Linked DNA regions of Homo sapiens: region 1 is linked to region 2. The links are contacts of gene promoters, found by promoter capture Hi-C in blood cells and fetal thymus (Javierre and others, 2016). All regions are on one chromosome and are shown on one strand. The core of a region is centred on a gene start or on the middle of the fragment in contact, and the rest is flanking DNA. Distances in the headings are between cores, read along the strand shown.

Evidence for each region. Contacts are between HindIII fragments. The CHiCAGO score rates a contact against its expected background, and 5 or more counts as called.
Region 1: a fragment that was not itself captured here is called in contact with the fragment with the promoter of PSMB5 in region 2 in 1 of 17 cell types (neutrophils); the score reaches 5.7 in neutrophils.

Annotation. Positions count from the first base shown.
Region 1 is chr14:22,545,675-22,548,961 of GRCh38, reverse strand. It overlaps TRA and TRAC. Among named protein-coding and RNA genes, the nearest start is that of LINC02332, 9.7 kb to the left of the region's middle. The HindIII fragment of the contact is 4,442 bases long and covers 1-3,287 here.
Region 2 is chr14:23,033,412-23,036,675 of GRCh38, reverse strand. PSMB5 (proteasome 20S subunit beta 5) reads left to right here and starts at 1,776. Exons shown (of 3, transcript NM_002797.5): 1 at 1,776-1,992; 2 at 3,002-3,264. The coding sequence starts at 1,795. RefSeq lists enhancers at 1,302-1,596, 1,381-2,050, 851-2,050. The HindIII fragment of the contact is 18,957 bases long and covers 1-3,264 here.

The DNA.
Region 1 (3,287 bases), core at 264-2,763, 490 kb after region 2:
CAGGCCGGGTGTGGTGGCTCACGCCTGTAATCCCAGCACTTTGGGAGGCTGAAGCGGGTGGATCACCTGAGGTCAGGAGTTCGAGACCAGCCTGGCCAACATAGTGAAACCCTGTCTCTACTAAAAATACAAAAAATTAGCCAGGCATGGTGGCGGGTGCCTGTAATCTCAGCTACTCGGGAGGCTGAGGCAGGAGAATCACTTGAACCTGGGAGGCGGAGGTTGCAGTGAGCCAAGATGCACCATTGCACTCCAGCCTGGGCAACAAGAGCAAAACTCCATCTCAAAAAAAAAAAAAAAAAAAAAAAAAAAAAAGAAAAGCAAATTAGGTGTCCCTCCCCTGCTTGAAGCCGATCAACAGCTTTCTGGCGTCCTTAGAATACTGTCTACCCTCTCATGGCCTAGAAGGCCCTGTGACCCGGCCCTGCCTCCTTCATTCAACTCATGCCTGCTGCTCTTCTCCTTTCTCATTGAGCTCCTGTCCCAGGCCTCTATAGGGTCCTCTCCCTGCCCTTGGTAGGGCTGGTATCTTCAAGTAGCATTTCTTCAGAGAGCCCTTCCCTGACTTTTGTCCTGAAGGTAGCTGTTTTCTCAACCCTGAGTTAAAACACATTCCAATCTGAAGTTATTTGGACTTTTCCCAGCTGACAGATGGGCTCCCCCAACTAGAATGGTGCTTCCTCTGGGCACACCCCTCATCTGACTTTTTAATTCCTCCACTTCAACACCTGGTGCATTCATGTGCCGGCACAATCAGTGATTGGTGGGTTAATGAGTGACTGCGTGAGACTGACTTAGTGAGCTGGGAAAGATTTTTTGGCAGACAGGGAGAAATAAGGAGAGGCAACTTGGAGAAGGGGCTTAGAATGAGGCCTAGAAGAGCAGTAAGGGGCAAACAGTCTGAGCAAAGGCAGGCAGGCAGGAACTCAGTTGGAGAGACTGAGGCTGGGCCACGTGCCCTCTCCTGCCACCTTCTCTTCATCTGCTTTTTTCCCGTGTCATTCTCTGGACTGCCAGAACAAGGCTCACTGTTTCTTAGTAAAAAGAGGGTTTTGGTGGCAATGGATAAGGCCGAGACCACCAATCAGAGGAGTTTTAGACATCATTGACCAGAGCTCTGGGCAGAACCTGGCCATTCCTGAAGCAAGGAAACAGCCTGCGAAGGCACCAAAGCTGCCCTTACCTGGGCTGGGGAAGAAGGTGTCTTCTGGAATAATGCTGTTGTTGAAGGCGTTTGCACATGCAAAGTCAGATTTGTTGCTCCAGGCCACAGCACTGTTGCTCTTGAAGTCCATAGACCTCATGTCTAGCACAGTTTTGTCTGTGATATACACATCAGAATCCTTACTTTGTGACACATTTGTTTGAGAATCAAAATCGGTGAATAGGCAGACAGACTTGTCACTGGATTTAGAGTCTCTCAGCTGGTACACGGCAGGGTCAGGGTTCTGGATATCTGTGGGACAAGAGGATCAGGGTTAGGACATGATCTCATTTCCCTCTTTGCCCCAACCCAGGCTGGAGTCCAGATGCCAGTGATGGACAAGGGCGGGGCTCTGTGGGGCTGGCAAGTCACGGTCTCATGCTTTATACGGGAAATAGCATCTTAGAAACCAGCTGCTCGTGATGGACTGGGACTCAGGGACAGGCACAAGCTATCAATCTTGGCCAAGAGGCCATGATTTCAGTGAACGTTCACGGCCAGGCCTGGCCTGCCACTCAAGGAAACCTGAAATGCAGGGCTACTTAATAATACTGCTTATTCTTTTATTTAATAGGATCTTCTTCAAAACCCCAGCAATATAACTCTGGCAGAGTAAAGGCAGGCATGGGAAAAAGGCCCAGCAAAGCAAACTGTACATCTTGGAATCTGGAGTGGTCTCCCCAACTTAGGCTGGGCATTAGCAGAATGGGAGGTTTATGGTATGTTGGCATTAAGTTGGGAAATCTATCACATTACCAGGAGATTGCTCTCTCATTGATAGAGGTTTTGAACTATAAATCAGAACACCTGCGTCTAAGCCCCAGCACTACCGTTTACTCGATATAAGGCCTTGAGCAAGTCACAGCAGCTCCTTACATCTCAGGAATTTCACCTGCAAAATGAATATGGTGCCTCATCCACCTTCCTAGCCAGGCTCTTCTGAGAAAGAAATGAGAGCTTCTCCATATAAACATCTATTTAATAAACTGTAAAGTACCAAACAAATGTTAGTTGGAGCCACTGACCCTGCCAGAATATGGCCGTGATAGAGTGCTAGTGAGTCATGCAGAGCCACAGCGTCTATCCTTCACCCTCAGAAAGCAGGAGCTGCTGGAGGCTTTTCCTTAGTGCTGAGACTCATTCTTCAGTATTTCCGTAGGATTTTGTGTTTTTAATGTGACTCTCATTGTTTATTCTTTCCGACCTCCTGCCTTTTGAGGAGGAAACAGAGGTTTGCCGGAGGATTAGCATGTTGGGGCCACCCAGAGAGTTTCCAGCAGGGTGGGGATTAGAATTTCCCACCCAGTGGTTCTCTGCTCCCACAGCCCCTCACATGCGCACAAGATTTCTCAGACCCTGGTGATTCCCCGACAGTTGCTGAGCCAGCCCTGGTGGCCTCGGCAATGCAGACATCCAGCTGGATCCAAAACCAAAGAAATCAGCCCCTGGGATGCTGAGTGGGGGCAGAGCTGCCTGCAGCATAGGGCTGTCCCTGGAGCAGTGGAGCAGGGGTGGGCTCCATGGTCAGAGGGGAGAGACATCCAGAGCTTTGGCTCCAGAGGATTCTGCCTACTTCCCTCCTCATGCTTGGGCAGCCTGACATCACTCTGGGTGAAGGCCCTAAGGCATAGTTCCTTTGCTGGGAAGGGACAGACAGAAAGCCATTAGCTCTACCAACACATCCCCCTGATTGTTAGTCATCAGTGGGGGTACTGGACAGCACTGCAGAGGGGGAGAGGAGTCTGGAAGTGCCGATCCTCAAGGCAGGGGATCAGGGGCCACCAGATGCAGGTTGGCTTTAAAGAGGAAAGGGGGTGGCCTTGTGGGGCAGAAACCCAACTTTGAGTCCTGGTTAAACACTCACTCAAGTCCTGGGGCTGGTGGGTGTCAGACTGGAGAAGATCTAGGCTGCTCTGTCTGGTATAATAGTCTCTAGCTACATGTGGCTGTTGAAATAAAAATTAGTCAATGTGAAATAAAATGTTTTCAATTAAAAATGGAAACTTCATTTCAAGAGCTCAATAGCCACATGTAGCTGGTGGCTATTGTATGGGACAGTGCAGATTGACAGGACATTTCCATT
Region 2 (3,264 bases), core at 527-3,026:
CCGGGGCAAGCGGATCACCTGAGGTCAAGAGTTTGAGACCAGCGTGGCCAATATGGTGAAACCCCATCTCTACTAAAAATACAAAAATTAGCCAGGCGTGAGGCCGGGCACGGTGGCTCATGCCTGTAATCCCAGCACTTTGGGAGGCCGAGGTGGGTGGATCACGAGGTCAGGAGATCAAGACCATCCTGGCTAACAAGCGGATCACCTGAGGTCAAGAGTTTGAGACCAGCGTGGCCAATATGGTGAAACCCCATCTCTACTAAAAATACAAAAATTAGCCAGGCGTGAGGCCGGGCACGGTGGCTCATGCCTGTAATCCCAGCACTTTGGGAGGCCGAGGTGGGTGGATCACGAGGTCAGGAGATCAAGACCATCCTGGCTAACACGGTGAAACCCCGTCTCTACTAAACACACACACACACACACACACACACACACACACACACACACACACAAATTAGCCTGTTGTGGAGGCAGGCGCCTGTAATCCCAGCTACTCGGGAGGCTGAGGCAGGAGAATCGCTTGAACCTGGGAAGCAGAGGTTGCAGTGAGCAGAGATCGTGCCACTGTGTTCCAGCCTGGGGGACACAGCAAGACTTGGTCTCAAAAAACAAACAAACAAACAAACAAAAACAATACAGCATATGCAGAGTCTGCTGGGGGAAAGATGGGGCCGAACTGGGCATCAGAGGAAAGTGGAATTTCGGTGTTGATAGATGTTGCTGCTAGAATCCAACAAGGAAGGCCAGAGACTGACTTCATAGAACCATAAAGCAGGAGGCAACATTTCATACATATGCACACTTCCCGGTTTGTTATAGTTCCCAAAAGATTTGAAAAATGAAGGTGGGTGGAGGGAGGAAGAGGCAATGAAATATAGTATGTTCCTGAATAAAAGGCATCATCTTAGCAAGTTGAAGTTAGAGAATCTCTTGGTACATATTTATGCAGTCTCAACCGTCCTCCCGTCTCTGAGATGGTAAATTACTACTGACACTTATTCAGGTCTGAACTGAGAATCTAGTTTGTGGATTAACTGGACCCTTTGCTTTTTCTTCTTCCATCTGCCTTTTAGGCAATTCATTACTTATTCGAATTTCCACCAGAAGGTAGGAGTCAAGAGAACGAATATTGGATATTAATAACCGGTTACTGTTAAAGAAGGGTTGCTGTATGGCGACTGACAACAAGAGGTATAGCACTTTTATTTTGTTGCGTTGTTTTACCACTAATTGCTGTGGTTTAACTAATATAGGGAAATGGCCTCAGAATGGATCATTATTTTACCCAATTTTAGAAGGTGCCCTTAAACAAGATGGCAACCTCAGGCGCGTTAACAAGGTGCTGAAGCAGCAGCGATGTAACCTGTTGCTTGGACACCAGGCTGGAGTGGGAGGACTCACCGCTAAGGGTTCAGAACCGATTTTCAACCAGTCACGCCCTTCTCAAAGATGGCCGACCTCACTTCCCTTACGCAACATGGACGTTTTCAGTCACTTCCTGTGATTTTGAGGTTATTCTGATCCAGGACTACTTGCATGACCAAAGCCAAGATGGCAGGTACGTCCTTTTAGAATTTAAGGTTAGTGAAGCCATCTATTTCCCCGACCCCCTTCAGTGAAAATGGTCTTTCGCATCTGGCTCTTCTTTTTGGAGGCGTGCTTGCCAGCAGTCAAAATGGCTCCATTCCGGAATAGATTTAATAGGAAGTGAAGCTGTGACGGCGAGGCGTTGCCCGGCCTATCTTTGCTAGGCGTTCTCAGAATTAGTTCTTTCTGCCCACACTAGACATGGCGCTTGCCAGCGTGTTGGAGAGACCGCTACCGGTGAACCAGCGCGGGTTTTTCGGACTTGGGGGTCGTGCAGATCTGCTGGATCTAGGTCCAGGGAGTCTCAGTGATGGTCTGAGCCTGGCCGCGCCAGGCTGGGGTGTCCCAGAAGAGCCAGGAATCGAAATGCTTCATGGAACAACCACCCTGGCCTTCAAGGTGTGGAGCCAGCCCCCTTGCCAGGCTGAGTACTGAACGCCCGCGACTTGCCTGGCCTCCCAGCCTGACCGGAGTTTGCGGTGGCCTTGGCCACCAACCCAGGCGGAGGCTGGGTCCTCTCGTTCGGACCGCAGCAGTTTTGCTGTCTCATTGGCCCAGGAGGCCCCTGTCTTTGCTCTGGTTGGAAAGGGTGGCGGTGGGGCCGGGGGTAAGTCGGGGGAGGAAGGTGAGGCCTCTTGGGTTGATTCCTAGGCGACCCCAGGTTGCTGCTGTTCAGGATCTTCTAGCTGGGAAAGGCCGCAACAACAATGAATCTTGGCCGAGGGAAGGCTATTGTAAACGTTTACCAAAGTTTTGGAAACTGGGCGGCCCCTCAAGGCAGGGGTAACTGAAACTGGCATGAAGGGGAAGCGTGGTGAGGGTAAGCATTGTACTAAGAATCAGACATTTGGGGTTCCTTGCCCAGCTCTGCAATAACTAGCTCTAGATTGAGAAATCATTTGATTTCATTGAACCTGTTTCCTCATCTATAAAATGATTTGTTTTTTTTTTTTTTTTGAAACAGGGCTTTTCGCTGTCGCTCAGGCTGGAGTGCAGTGGCTCCAGCGCCTCAGCCTCCAGAGTAGCTGACACTATAGGCACACACCACCACGACAGGCTAAGTTTTTTTACTTTTTGTAGAGATGGATCTCCCTGTGTTGCCCAGGCTGGTCTCCAGCACCTGGCCTCAAGCGGTCCTCCCGCCTTGGTCTCCCAAAATGCCTGGGTTACAGGAGTGAGCCACCACGCCCATCCTATAAAATGAATTTAATATGGGTTATATCCATGTCAAGGGATTGATGTGAAGCTCGGGTGACATTAATATATGGTGAAGTATAGAAGTATACTGTGAAGTATAAAAGGACGGAGAAAGAGATGTGCTGGGTTTGGATTGATGCAAAAAGAAGTATGTAGGAGTGTTTTTGTGGTCTTATGTGGCCTGTTTTGTGTTTTCCTCTGATCTTAACAGTTCCGCCATGGAGTCATAGTTGCAGCTGACTCCAGGGCTACAGCGGGTGCTTACATTGCCTCCCAGACGGTGAAGAAGGTGATAGAGATCAACCCATACCTGCTAGGCACCATGGCTGGGGGCGCAGCGGATTGCAGCTTCTGGGAACGGCTGTTGGCTCGGCAATGTCGAATCTATGAGCTTCGAAATAAGGAACGCATCTCTGTAGCAGCTGCCTCCAAACTGCTTGCCAACATGGTGTATCAGTACAAAGGCATGGGGCT